2 separate regions of the Homo sapiens genome follow, and region 2 is linked to region 1. Evidence: promoter capture Hi-C in 16 types of primary human blood cells and fetal thymus (Javierre and others, 2016). All regions are on one chromosome and are shown on one strand. The core of a region is centred on a gene start or on the middle of the fragment in contact, and the rest is flanking DNA. Distances in the headings are between cores, read along the strand shown. Region 1 holds the start of OLFML1 (olfactomedin like 1). Region 2 has its middle 32 kb from the start of RBMXL2.

Region 1 (4,424 bases), core at 1,031-3,530:
TTCCATTTAATTGATATCCCATTATTTATTCTGTTAGACTCTTTTTGAGGTACATTTACATAGTTTTTAATTTTTTGTCATTCAAACAATGCTGAGAAAAAAACTTTTTATTTACATCTTCATCAGATTATTAAGGGAAAAAAAAACCTTTGTATTTACATCTTCATCAGATTATTTTAAGGTAGATTTCCAGAATATCCGTCCCTAGCACTTGGCACAGGGCCAAGCACATAATACTATTCAATAAATATTTGCTGAACAAAAGAATAAATGAATGGAAATGGGATTGCTTGGTCAAAGAGAATGTCTACTTAAAGCTCATTTGGCATGGTTTATCAAAATTCTATCCACAAATGTAAAAATGTATGCTCCAAACAACAATACGTAAGGCTGTTTATTTTGAAGGGAGAAAGACAGAAAGAGAGACCCAAAATAATTCCCTAAATCCCTACCCTCTTTTTTCCTACCCCTCCGACACTGGCTTCTCAGGCTGGGAATGCTATCACTGTATTGTTAAGTGTCTGCGCTGGCCAACAGTGACTGCCACCTGCGACTTGGCTTCACCTCAGGTCAGGACTGGGGTGGGAAGATCTATACAGATCATATCCTTGTCTTTTTCAAATCCACATTCATAGCTATAAAAGGATCAGTCTGTACTTCATACCCTTGACAAGTTCTTAAGGTAGTGAAAGACAATTTGCAGGGATTTGGCTGGCTTTACTCCCAAGGCAAGTCGGTGCTAAATGCAGAGGGATCCTGACTGAGCATCATTCTGGCACTTCTAAGGAGGTGAGGCTCAGGAGGGAGCAAGTGAAGAAGCGCAAGAGGCCGCTCGTCTGGGAACACTTCATCCACTGCCTCCAGGCCCCAGCCTGTTGGCTGGACGCCCTTAGGAAATGCATTCGGCCTGCTATGTGGAATTACTTTACCCTGACTATAACTAGAAGAACATATAATTTGGACATGAAGATTTTTCAGGAAAATGTATAAAATAATTATTAGCAATAAGAGGGTCTTTGAAAGAAGATAAATAATTTATCAATTTAGCTTGTACAAAAGCAAGCCATTAAGTATGAATAATCAATGCCAGGGTGTGGCAAAGGCTAGGGTGGAGGGTTACATTTGTCCCTGGGAGCCTGTCCAGGCTGCCAAAATGTTGGGTTTTGCACATTTTAATGAGGTGGCAGCCCAAATGCATTCTTTCTGTTTAACTTGGCTGAAATCTGCTCACTTCTAAGTCTAAATCCAGTTCAGCAAAAGAAACTAAGACTTCTCAGTACATTGATATCATGACTTTTTACAGTGACCTAATGGTTTATCATAAAAGACAAAACGAAAAGCTGAAATCCATTATCAGCCTGAAACACTAAAACATGAAGAAAAAGTAACCAACATTTTTAAGTTTCATATTTTAAAAAATGAACTATGGTGAATAATAACATTTTAGATACATACCATTATGCCAGGCAGTATTTTAGCTATGGATTAAATCTTCAGGATAGCCTTACAACATAAATTCTACTATTATCCCCATTTTACAGATGAGACAAACTGCCAAATCAGAGCACAAAGTGCAACTGTGCTTAAGGTCTGGAAGTAGCACACTGGACTCTGGAGTTCGGCTCTAAACTGCCAGACTATGAGCATTTTAAAGTGTAACTTTGGCAATGTGTCATTTGCTATCTGGGAAAAATACAACCCAGTAGATAGAGAAGCATGGGTAAAAATAAGGTACTTCTGGGAAGCCTGTTACTTATCCAAGGTGTACAGATGCCACCTACCTCCAAGACTCGAAAGCGCTGGTAGATGTAATGCACCATGGCTGGGTCCTGGGTACACTGCGGCGGGGGCAGAAAAGCTGCAAGGAACAGAACCAGCAATGCAGAAGCTCCTCGAAGGGCCACCATCATCCTGCAAAACACCAAGCAGGGCAGTCTCTTATGCTGTGGCTCTTCTCAAGGATGTCTCAAGGGCTCCGGTGGTGCTCTCCTGCTCTATCCGCTGCTGTGGCAAATCCTCTAAAAACAGCGTTTTGCACAGCAGAGAGCAAAGTCCGCTTGTTATTCCACCCGATACGTGAGCTCAGTTTGCCAGCTAGTGATCAAGTCCAGCTGTTGGCAAGTTGGTCCCTGAGGCCTTGTAGACTGACCTGTGGCAGAGAGCTCCCTGGGTCCAGCATCTGTTGCCCTCACCCTTGACACATGCGGACCCTCCCCAGGCTAGTGGTTGCAAGCTGCTTCCTGGCTTAATTGTGTGTGCATTGGGGTGGGGGGTGAAGATGGCTTCCCCCCGTTCCCTTCCCCCAGCTATTTCCTTTTTACTTTTGCTTTCCTCCTCCCTAGTGGATTCTGCAGTCCAATCGCAGGCCTTCCCCAACACAAACCACCCCCAACTTTTTAAAGTTGGACTCTCAGTTTAGTTTCTGGCAAAAATTCCCAGGATCCTTTTCCAGAAGTCCTATTGGGAGACCCCACCCCTCATCCAGACTCCCTTCACATTCCTGCAGCTCTTAAAGGCACAGCCAGGAAAAATAAACATGGATCTACCACTATCTCTGAACAGCCAGTGCACAGGGCTACATCGCCCCTTGGGCAGAAAGGTACAATGGGCTACAGGCCTGGCCATCCAGGCTGTCAGCTGAAACATCTCAGGATGGAGCTGAGAATAATTTGATTAAGAGGAACAACAACAATCATTGATACAGTGATGCTTCCAGGGTCAAGCCATCAAAAAGTGAAACGCCTTTGTAAGGAAATCCTTGAGTTTTCTCAATCACTGGAGGCAGAATTCCCTTCATGTAGCTGCAGGCCAGAAATATGTAGGACTAAACTCCTGCAGGCCCTGGTCCAATTGAAGATAAATTATAACCCTAGGACAAGGTGGTAAAATCTTTGAATTTGTCTGTGCAGTCCAGCCCTCTTCTTATCTCAACCTGCCTTTCCATGGGAAAGGCCAGGACGCCTTGGGGTTCTTTCTCAATCACCTGCCAAACTGAGAAAGGCTGGGGCATCTATGGAATGTGAAAAGAATGCTCTCCAGGAGTCAGAAGGCCTGTGTTTCCATTTGGTCCTCACAAGAGACGCTAATAGATACCTTTATCAAAACATTTCACGTACCCCATAAACACCTACTATGTATCCACAAAATTTTTTTAAAAGAGACACATAGACTGAGAATTTTCCACTGGTGGTCCTTAAACTTCCTTATGCCCGGTAATATTTCTCCCCACCCTTCTTCCATATGGCCACAGCTCCTAACTATTCCTCCTCACCCTCTCGGTAAAAATCCCAAACAGTAGTTCATCATCCTTAGAAACAATTCCTCATATTTCTTAGAACCATCTTTGCACTATTCCCTAAACCAGTTGAACTTCAGCTGACCCTGCCTCCTAAATCCTTATTAAAAATTCTGTCTGGCTCACGCTGCTTCTCCAAGTGAGAATATTCTCTCTGAAATTACTCATGCCTAGCATTTTTGAATAAAGTCTTAAGGGTGCTCTAGTTGATTTACTTCCACAAATGCCTCAAGTCCTAACTCTGAGACTGTGAACTAAGATGGATAAGGTCCAGTGGAGGAAAACTCTGATTGTATCTAATTAACTTTTCGGTGGTGGTGGTGTGGGTAGTTCTTTCCTGGGTTTTCTAGAGCATGCTTACATTACTTTTTCAATGAAATACACATGCCATACTTACAGAGTCTAAAGAATTACTGGAGAGTCTGTAAGGGGGAAATGCAGTGGGAAGCCTCGGTTGCAGCAGAAGTCCTTGAGGTGCTTTCAGGGCTGCTGTTGCTCTTATCTCTGTGGAGTGGGCTCCAAAGAGGTTGGCTCAGGACTGGCAGGCACCATCTCTGCCCACCAGTGATTCAGGCCCAGCACCACTTTCTCTGCGGTCACCACCTTCTTCAGAGGGACACTCCTGGCCTCTCAGCTCTGACTGCCCACACCTGGTCTTAACTGGAGAGCTTCATTTACTTTTTGTAATCCCAAACAGGGACAGCAAATCTCACAGCTGGAACCCATAACCCATTAGGATTGATGACCCATAGTTCAGAACCAGAGTGGAAACTCTCATATTCTCGTGACCAGAGGTTTCATAAAGAAAAACCAAACTCACTTTGGAGACAGACCCAGCCTTGACTCGCAGTGGCCTACTGAAGCCATCTTTATTAGAACAGTCCCTCCTCAGTGGGTGCCGGGTGGATAAGGGTGAAAAAGATGGCCTGCCGCACCTAGACCTGCAGCTGGACGAAATCAGTTAGCTCCACTGTCTTCATTACACGTAACCTCTGGCCTTGACCGTTGCTATTACTAGCCAGGACAGTGGACAAGCACAGTGACTTCTCTTTTCTCCTCTGCAAGTGTCTGATCCTTCCGCTTTTCTACCCCGGTATCCTGAGAGGGGAAATAAGCTCCTTTATATCCA
Region 2 (4,376 bases), core at 835-3,334, 360 kb after region 1:
AGGCAAGTTCTATCATCCCATTTTCTATTTCAGGTATCTAAGTCTTCGAGAGGTTCTGTAACTTATTCAAGATTAACTGTTGAGCATCAAGTGACAAAGCCAAGATTCACATTTAGATCTGTCTGGCTATAAAACCAGTGCTCTTGACTGCCATAATGTCCTTCAAAGACAATAACTTGAGAAGGATTTTATTTTAGACTGAGAGCTTGGAGCATGTGATTTTAATTGTGTTTCTCTTCACCCAGTTTTCTTACATTTCCTTCCCTACATTGCTCCTCTGCTGCAATGCAGATATATTACTTGTATTCCAGGAGCATCACAGGCAAACTGAGCTTTTTCTGCTTCACTGACTGACCTCATAAAATCCAATACTTCTCCAGTTTTTAAATAGCTCATGGAAAAACTATTGGGCATTGCCTGCAGTATCCAGGGTTTGTTCCGTTCTGAATCTCAGTAAAAGTAGCTGCCTTATGCTTCCCCATCCTCCCTACTGTCTGATGAATCTGGGCAGTGGTGGCAGTGGTTTTTAAGTATGTTAATAAGAAAACCCACTCATTCTTATAATTAAAATTCTCACGTGGATTGATTCCTCAGTCTTCTGCTCAGATTTTCATGGCTTGCAGATATTAAATTATTATTATGTGGATATGGAGGTTCTTTAGGATTGTCAGCCACTCAGGTTCTACAGAGATTCTAGTAAACAAAATGCTACACAAATCAGCTTTTTTCTGCAGTAATCTTTCTCAATAAGTCCTTCAAAATTTTTTGAATATACATTAATTATTTACCATGTGCTGGGCACTGTGCTATGTGTTTTAAATATGCTGAATGACTTAATTCTCCCCAATCATAAAGTGAGCTTTTTTTTTTTTTTATCATTCCTATTGTACAGATGAGAAAATAGACATGGAGAAGTTAAGTGATTTGCCTTAAAACCACATATGGGTTGGAATTTTGAACTCAGGAAGTTTGATTCAAGAGCACAAAAGCTTAAACACCATGTTACACTTCTTATTTTAATGAATTCATTTCTGTATTTTATAAATTTATTTCCATGAGCCTTTGAAGATCACTAGAAGGTAGTTGAAGTTGGGAAAGAAAATTGAAGTACAAAAAGTGGCAAAGAAATAGTGATTAAAAACATTTTATTTTATAATAATTTCAAAGTTAGAGAAAGGTTGTAAGATGAGTAAAAAGAATTTCAGTATGCCTTGTCAGGGTTCCCAATTGTTAACATTTGACACAATTTCTTTGCCATTCTCTCTCCCCACTCCACCCTGCCTTTATCCACACACACACATTTTCCCCCCAAACCAGTTGAAAATAAGTGGAAGCCATGATAATCCATTATGCCTATATCTCTAAGAAAAGGACACTCTCCTATATAAGTACAAAATTGAGAAAATGAACATTGAGACCATAAAATTCACAAATTCCATTCAAATTTCACAAATAGTCCCAATATTGTACATTATAGCAAAGGAAAGTACAAGAATATTCTGGTTCAAGTTCTGCCTGAGATAAAATGCTACCGTTGTCACTTTTCATTTTCTTCCGTCTGAAACAGTTTCTGTCTTTTCTCGTTCATGATGTTGACATTTTTGAATAGTACAAGCTAGCTATTTTGTAGAATTCCCCTCAACTTGAGTTTAATAATGCTGCTTCAATATTAGATTCAGGTTATGCATTTATGGCAGGAACATCACAGAAATGATGCTATGTTCTTCTCAGCAGATCATAACAAGAAGACAATGTTGATTTGTATCATTCTAAATGATGTTAATTTTTATCACTAGATAAAGGTGGTGCTTGCCAAATTTCTTCACTATAAATTTGTAGTCTTCCCTTTACAATTAAGTATTTTGTGGAGAGATCCTTTGATATTACATTAATATCTTATTCCTCATCAAACTTTTACCCACTAGTTTTATACTCTATTGATGATTCATGCCTAAATAATTACTATGATGTTTGCTAATAATGACTTCCTAACTTTCTATCATTCCTTCTACATTTACTAGTTGATTCTGTACTGTAAGAAAGAGCTTTTGCTTCTCCCATATTTCTTTAATCATTTATCTCACTATGGACTCACTGATCCTTATTTTAATCAATAGGTTATAATTCATTACTATCTTTATTTATTTTGATGCTGAAACTCTCCCAGTGGTCCTTCTGGCTGCTTACTGTGTCATTTTGATAAGTCCACATTGTTTTTAATCATTCTCTTGTTTTATGACAAATCAAGATATTTTGGGCTCATCTTGTACTTTCCTTGCCCCAGCCCTGGAATTAAACATTTCTCTAAAAAGTCTTTGTTTCTCTTATTGGAGAAACATACATATATAAGTCCAGATCTGGACACTATGTGTGTTCTTTGCTGCTGGGGCTCCATTGCTTTTAGGCTGTCTCAGCAGAAAAAGCTAGAAAATATAGAAAATGTACACACACACACATGTATCTATCTACACATGCACATACAGGGCTATGTCCTTTTCCTTTCTTTCACTCTCTCTCTCGTGTGTGTGTGTGTTTGTGTGTGTGTATAATATAAATATATATCTCTCTCAAGAGTTCATCATACTGGTATCTCCAATTCTGATGGAACACCATTCTGTTCTAATTTTCACCCTTTAAATTATTGAATATCCTTTCTCTTACAGTGAGAAACTTGGCTCCCGTTACTTTTGGCCATTTCCTTTATTTATAAACAATGCCTTTTTAGCTCCAGCCCCACAGGATCCATTAGCCAATGCTGTCTCCTAGGCCCTAAATGCCTCCTCCACCCAGGCCTTGCAGTCTCGCAGGAATAGACATTTTTGCAATTAAGCATCAGAAGAGTAAGAACAATAATGTAAACAGACCAGGGCCTTAGAACTGCCGTGTTGGTGGAACATGTGAGTGATAATCCAAGGCTGCATAAGGTTCAGTGTACATACAAAAGATGGAGGGGGTGGTTAGGAAAGACTTTATGTATAAGCTAATCACTGTTCAGCCCTTAAAATTATATCTGGCAAAGAGAAGAGACAGAGAAGGTACAGGTAGAGTGCACAGCACGAACAAAGATATGGAGGTATGAAACAGATTTTTCTATTCAGAAAATTTTAAGCAGAAGACAAAACCTGCAGAGAGAACTGCAATGAGAGATAAAGCTGTACAATATGCAGGATACAAGCTTTATACATTATTTACAAAAATGTTTAAAAGTTATTCAATAGTTAATGGGGAGCTATTGTCTAGTTTTAACATGAGAGATATTTTAGTTCTAAATGTGAGTTTTTAAAATGCCACTTTGTCTGAAGCATTGAGATTAAAATTGAAATGGGGCTACACTGAAGGTGGCAAATAGTTAAAAGACTGCTGTGATATATCAGGGAAGGGATCTAGAAGGCACTGAACCAAGGCAATAGCCATGTGAATGGAAATAAGAAGGTGGATGCAGAAGTGTTAAGGAGATAGAATCAATATGTTTTAATGATAATTAGAGATGGAGAACGTGGAAAAACTTGAAACATACAGGGACATCTATGATCCCTGCATAGGAGACTGAGATCATGGTAGTAACATTCACTGGTAGAGTATAGAGAGGGTGTTTTAGAAAGAAGATGATGAATTCAGCTTGTGACTTCTTGAGTCTCTCTCTTAGCCAGCTCAGGCTGCTATAACAAATTACCATCGACTAGGTGGCTTGAAGAATAAACATTCATTTCTCACAGTTCTGGAGACTGGAAGTCTAAGATCAGAGTGCCAGTATAGTTGGGTTCTGGTGAAGGCCCTGTTCCAGGTTTACAAATGCCCATCTTCTAATTATATCCTCAAATAGCAGAAATAGGTATCACCTCCCTTGTGTATCTTCTAATGAGGGTACTAATCCCACTCTTGAGGGCCTCACCCTCATGACCTAATTACCTCCCAAAGACCCTCCCCCAGTACCACTGCACTGGGGGTTGGGATTTTTCAATGTATGAATTTCGGAAGGACACAGACATTCAGTCCATAACCATGTGAGTTGCCTGTTGTATATCCAGTAAGATATATGAACTGAGCAGTAGGTCTGACGCTCCCAATTGAACAAGACTGAAGATAAAACTCTGAAAGTCACTAGTGTATTAGTGGTAGTGGAAACTGCAATAATCGATTATACAACCTAGAGAATTTTGTTCTGTGAAAAGAGAAGAGACAGCCGAGAACAGATCCTGAAAACAAAAACATCCAAGGGATGCCTAGAAGACTTGAAGACTTGCAAAACAGCCTATGAGAAAATGATTGAAGAATGAGAGGAAGAAGCAAGAATGTTCAGAAGCCAAGCTTATGGGAGTGACTTCTTGCTTTAAGTCACTTTTGAATAGCTCCCCACAATACAGCTTTCTCAATTA

The links. Contacts are between HindIII fragments. The CHiCAGO score rates a contact against its expected background, and 5 or more counts as called.
Region 2: a fragment that was not itself captured here is called in contact with the fragment with the promoter of OLFML1 in region 1 in 1 of 17 cell types (endothelial precursors); the score reaches 8.4 in endothelial precursors.

Annotation. Positions count from the first base shown.
Region 1 is chr11:7,483,362-7,487,785 of GRCh38, reverse strand. It overlaps OLFML1 (olfactomedin like 1), which reads right to left and starts at 2,280. Exons shown (of 3, transcript NM_198474.4): 1 at 1,782-2,280. The coding sequence starts at 1,910. RefSeq lists an enhancer at 2,099-2,603. The HindIII fragment of the contact is 6,703 bases long and covers 1-4,424 here.
Region 2 is chr11:7,118,732-7,123,107 of GRCh38, reverse strand. No RefSeq gene overlaps it. Among named protein-coding and RNA genes, the nearest start is that of RBMXL2, 32 kb to the right of the region's middle. The HindIII fragment of the contact is 2,186 bases long and covers 992-3,177 here.